2 separate regions of the Homo sapiens genome follow, and region 2 is linked to region 1. The links are contacts of gene promoters, found by promoter capture Hi-C in blood cells and fetal thymus (Javierre and others, 2016). All regions are on one chromosome and are shown on one strand. Each heading gives the region's core, a stretch centred on a gene start or on the middle of the fragment in contact. The rest is flanking DNA. Distances are from core to core; before and after follow the strand shown.

The links. The method cuts DNA at HindIII sites, captures the fragments that hold promoters and counts their contacts. A CHiCAGO score of 5 or more calls a contact.
Region 2: a fragment that was not itself captured here is called in contact with the fragment with the promoter of PROK1 in region 1 in 2 of 17 cell types (M2 macrophages and total B cells); the score reaches 6.1 in M2 macrophages.

Annotation. Positions count from the first base shown.
Region 1 is chr1:110,449,777-110,452,558 of GRCh38, forward strand. PROK1 (prokineticin 1) reads left to right here and starts at 1,373. Exons shown (of 3, transcript NM_032414.3): 1 at 1,373-1,512. The coding sequence starts at 1,441. The HindIII fragment of the contact is 11,265 bases long and covers 1-1,952 here.
Region 2 is chr1:110,330,475-110,333,256 of GRCh38, forward strand. All of the region lies in intron 1 of RBM15-AS1 (RBM15 antisense RNA 1), which reads right to left. Among named protein-coding and RNA genes, the nearest start is that of RBM15-AS1, 7.3 kb to the right of the region's middle. The HindIII fragment of the contact is 5,554 bases long and covers 1-2,782 here.

The DNA of each region.
Region 1 (2,782 bases), core at 123-2,622:
CTTGGAGAGATTAGCAATATTTTCAAGGTCATGAAGCCATCGATCTGAATCAAAGCATCTGCCTCTGGGGGCTTAGCTCCCAGCTCCCGTGCTAGTTAACCTTCCTCTCTGCACTCATAAATGCCTATCAGCGTTTCAATGTGGAAACCCTAGACCCCTGTGACATTTGATAAGAAAGGTTTTGTGGATGAATCTGCTTGTGAAATACTACAAACTGCATTTCCCACTTGGTGTTTCAAACACTTATTAGCATATGAAAGGCCCTGAAAAGTTCTGCAAAAAACAAGCCGGTTTGTGTTTCCCAAATTTTTGACTGTAGAAGTCTTTTATTTGTTTATTTGTGTATTAACATATTGCAACACATACCTTGGGAAATGTTGGCTTTTATTACTGTGGAGAGAAGGCAGATCATCTGACAAAGCACTGGGAGCTCTCTCTGGGTCGTATGACACAGAGAGGGCTGGGGTCAGGGGCTTCCCTCACAGGCGGAGGGGCCATCCCGAAAGTCAACTTCCCACCAGACTGGCATCTGAGACCACCGTGTTTATACACTCACGGATAAGGCCACTCTCATGCTCACCCCTAAAACTGGAAGGCCAGTGGTGTGGCTCTGGTACCTTTCAGCCACAGCCCATACCAGCTCGGCTCTGCAGGGTACTGAGAGAGTGTGTGCCCTGTATGTTTGCTGGCTTTCTGCCCTTGGGTCATTGTACCAAGGGACACTTGCTGGTGTTCATCCTGAGCCCATGAGAGAGCAAATCCTTATGTGTGTGTCACTTAGGAACATCAGCCCCACAAGTCTGGTCTTTTTTTCCTCACTGTCTTATGGCTCCTCACTATAATTTTAACCTTTTAGAGAAATAAGGATACCACCTCACCCTCTTCTGTCTTCTCAGCTACCTCTGTGTTGAGCCCATGGTAAATGCCTAGATAAGTCTTGGTGTGAGTGAGAGGGAACCAATAATCTTGTATGTTGCATAGTTTGGTGCAGGGAAGCATAAATGGTGATGTTGCAAATCCCTTAATTCATTACCAGAGGCTTTCCTCTGCCCCAAGTAGGATAGAAGGATACCCAGAGGCAGAAAAGAACATTGAGTGAAATATACATAACTGTCTGAATCACTGCGTTCTTGGGAGAGTTAGAGCAACCGTCAAAGCCCCCCAAGTATCCATTTTTATTGGTTTTGATGTTGATTTGATGTTGTTAGAGATTCAGGTCTCATCTTCGCTTCTGAGATCATCTGAGTAACATCGGTGTTGGAGAAGGGAAGAGCAGAGATGAGGCATCCACAGGCAGCCCTGGATCCTGAGTGTAAACATCTGGGAGGAGGCGGGGGATGCAGGAGAGCCTGGCCTCCCCAGCTTGCCAGGCACAAGGCTGAGCGGGAGGAAGCGAGAGGCATCTAAGCAGGCAGTGTTTTGCCTTCACCCCAAGTGACCATGAGAGGTGCCACGCGAGTCTCAATCATGCTCCTCCTAGTAACTGTGTCTGACTGTGCTGTGATCACAGGGGTAAGTCGCCTAACATTCTCTGTGCCTTGGGTTTTGGGAAGATGTCAGGGTCTGCACGGGTTGTGAGCCCAGGAACCATGCAGGAGGCTCTGTTGGCTCAACACAGTGTGAACCAAAGGGAATGGGGAATTATGCATTAAAGGGATTGCATGCGATTTTCAGACTAGTTAGACCTCACTCTACTAAATGGGATCTGCTTTTGAGAAGCTGTGTATGAATCAAATCCTGTTTTCAATGTGTTAGCAGAGCATTGAACATTTTGAAGTTCAGTCCTTTGGTAAAGTGAAGATTCCTATTAAGTAATAAGGAATTCCTTTATAAAGTGGATTGGCAAACCTTAACTTATCTTTTGTGTGAATTTTAATTTTTATTTATGGTCTGATTCACATATTAATATTAATATTAATTTACATAGCATGTTGACTTAATTAAAGGCAGTAAGCTTAATTAAAGGTGGTAAGCTTATAAACTTCTATTGTATAAACTTAACCTCCGCTTAGAAAGGATATCTTTGAAACTCTTTCACTCTGTGCCTGCCTAGTTAGTTCTGAGAGGAATATGGGTGCCACTAACATTCAGCTGAGTGTACCCCAAAGCAAGCATCCAGATAACAAGTAGATATCCAGTCTCGAAGCAGAGAAGCAAAGGTTCAGCATATGGGCACTGTACAATTGGTTCAAAATATTCAGATCATGGTTTTCTCTCGGAAGTTTGCTTTTACCTCAAACCACCTTCAAATAGGGGCACATGATGTGTTATGGTAGCAGGACCATTCTTACTGAAGCAGAAAGCAATGCTGTACCTGAGAGCTTTCCATATAAAATCCACTGGAAGAAAAAGGTCGGGGAAGCAGGGAAACTAACTTTTAGTTCAGCCTCCACCAGCTTTTTACATGGATAGTGGAAATGTAGAGAAATGCCAAACAATTCCTGGAATTGGGTTAATTTTACCATTCACAGAAAGGACAAATTCTTTCTTTTCTCTTTTAAAGGAAAAACACTGAGTTCAAAAGAACAAATATTAAAGGCGAGTCAAATGCTTTTGAGATCCAAAGCAAAAATAAAAATAATTGTGAAGGCAGAATTATACCTAATGAAGTGTTTACACTGTAGGCTGCCCTTCTATGGGGTAGCTTGAAAATCTGGGAGGGCAAGAACAATGGAGAGAAGCCCCGGCTGCTGCGCGGTGAGGGCAGGAGCAGCGTGGTTGGCCTGGATGCCAGGCTTGCCTCACCACCCGTGCCAGCTCCAGCACTGGCCCAGAGTGACAG
Region 2 (2,782 bases), core at 148-2,647, 120 kb before region 1:
GTGACTATGTCCACAAACACTAGCGGCAGGGGTAAGCAAGGCAAGTATTTCTCTATACCATTGTCTGTGATCTATAGATAGCACGAGCAGTTAGGGTGGGTGTTAATCTTTTTTTTTTTTTTTTTAAGACAGAGTCTTGCTCTGTTGCCCAGGCTGGAGTGCAGTGGCACAGTCTCGGCTCACTGCAAGCTCCGCCTCCCGGGTTCACGCCATTCTCCTGTCTCAGCCTCCCGAGTAGCTGGGACTACAGGTGCCTGCCACCACGCCCAGCTAATTTTTTTTGTATTTTTAGTAGAGACAGGGTTTCACCATGTTAGCCAGGATGGTCTCGATCTCCTGACCTCGTGATCCGCCCTCCTCGGCCTCCCAAAGTGCTGGGATTACAGGCACGAGCCACCATGCCTGGCCAGGGTGAGGGTTAATCTTTAACCTACAGGCCTGGCCAGTGGCGCCGATCAGTCTGTTATTTTTCAGTTTTTACTTCCTCCTTTTCTTTGGAGACGGGACAGGAGGAGAAATGGCCTCTCTCCTCACTAAAAATAGAAAAAATTAGACAGACCTGTTGGTGCTCAGGAGGCTGAGGCAGGGGAATCACTGGAACCCAGGAGGCAGATGTTGCAGTGAGCCAAGATCATGCCATTGCACTCCAGCCTGGGCAACGAGAGTGAAACTCTGTCTCAAAAAATAAAAATAAAATAAAATAAGGAATAATAGTGCTCACCATCATTCTTTCTATGTAACATTCTATCAAAGATTCTATCAGTCAAAGTCAGCACAGTAACACCAGAAAAGCAAAATCATAAGGATTAGAAAGGAAGAAATATTCTTACTATTTGTAGATGATATGACTGCCTACATAAAAAACTAAAAGGGGGTCAGGCACAATGGCTCATGCTTGTAATCCCAGCACTTTGGGAAGCCAAGGTGGGGAGATTGCTTGAGCCCAGGAGTTCAAGATCAGCCTGGGCAATATGGTGAAACCCTATCTCCACTAAAAATACAAAAACTGAGGTGAGAGGATCACCTGAGCCTTGGGAGGTCGAGGCTGCAGTGAGCCGTGATCACACCACTGCCCTCCAGCCTGGGCAACAGAGTGAGACCCTGTCTCAAAAAAAAAAAAAAATTTAGCAAGGGCCTGTATTTCGAATCCTGACAACAGACAAATAAAAAGCATAATTTAATTTAAAAAGACACCATTACCAATAGTTACGAACCATACTAAAAGAGATGCAAGAGTATTCATCAAGTATACAAATTTTGCTGAAGGAAACGAAATAAGACCTAATTAAATGAAAAAATCCATATTCACTGAAATACTTTTTTAATAAGGAAAAATAATTTTTTTATAGGGAGACTTTTTTTTGTCTTTTTCTTTCCTTTTTGTGGAGAACAGGGTCTCGCTATGTGTTGCCCATGCAGATCTCAAACTCCTGGGCTCAAGCTATCCTCCCCTCTCTGCCTCCCTAAGTGCTGGGATTACAGGTATGAACCACTCTGCCTTATAATTTATAAGAAAGAACAAAAATTTAATATAGTCAAATACTGGTGGCAGGGTTGGGGAAAGTGATGAGGATTTCTTAGACAAGATACAGAAAGTGCTAACTATAAAATGTTGATAAATTCAATCTTATTTAAATTAAGAATTTGTATCTTAAATATCAGCTTAAATTGTGTGAAAAGATAAGCCACAACTAGAAAAAGATGTTTGCCATACATACACTCTATAATAAAGGATTAGGATCAAGAACATGTGAAAAACTCATACACCTATAAGAAACATACAATTCAATAGAGGAGCAAAATACATGAGTAGATATTTCATAGATGAAGAAATATATATGGCCAGTAAACTTATAAAGAGATATGCAACCTCACTAGTAATCAAGGAAATAAAATATCAAAACCACAGAGACATGCTATTTTATGTCCATTTGATTAAAAAAAGTTATAAAATGTTAGTGACGTGGATCAATAAGATCTCTTATACACTACTGATGAGACTGTAAATTGCTAAACACCACTTTAGAAAACAATTTGACATTATCCTGTGAAATTGAATATTCAATATAACCTTTTTTTTTTTTTTTTTTTTTTTAAGAGACAGGGAGGGTCTCACTATATTACCCAGGCTGGCCTTGAACTCCTGGGCTCAAGTGATCTGTCCACCTCAGCCTCCTGAGTAGCTGGGGTTACAGGCCAGCTTCAATATAACTTTTTAATCCAGTAATTCCACTCCTAGGTATCCTTCACCTCTCCATCCTATCCCAGGGGAATTCTTGCATGTGTGCCTCAGGACATATGAATGAGAATCTTCATCATAGCACTGCATTAGGCCATTCTGCGTTGCTATAAAGGAATACACAAGACTGGGGTAATTTATAAAGAAAAGAGGTTTTAACTGGCTCATAGTTCTGCAGGCTGTACAGGAAGCATGGTGCTGACATCTGCTCAGCTTCTGGTGAGGTTTTGGCCTGCTTACAATCATGGCAGAAGGCAAAGGGGGAGCCAGCATATCACATAGTGAGAGTGGGAGTGAGAGAGAGTGGAGTGACATATACTTTTAAACAACCAGAACTCTGGAGAACTCACTCACTATCACGAGGACAGCACCAAGCCATGAAGGATCCTCCCCCATGATCCAAATGCCTCTCACCAGGCCCCACCACCAACACTGAAGATAACATTTCAACATGAGATTAGAGGGGACAACATTCAAACTATATCAAGCACTCTTCATAATAGCACAAAAAGTAAAAAATACTCATAGCCCAAATCAAAAGAA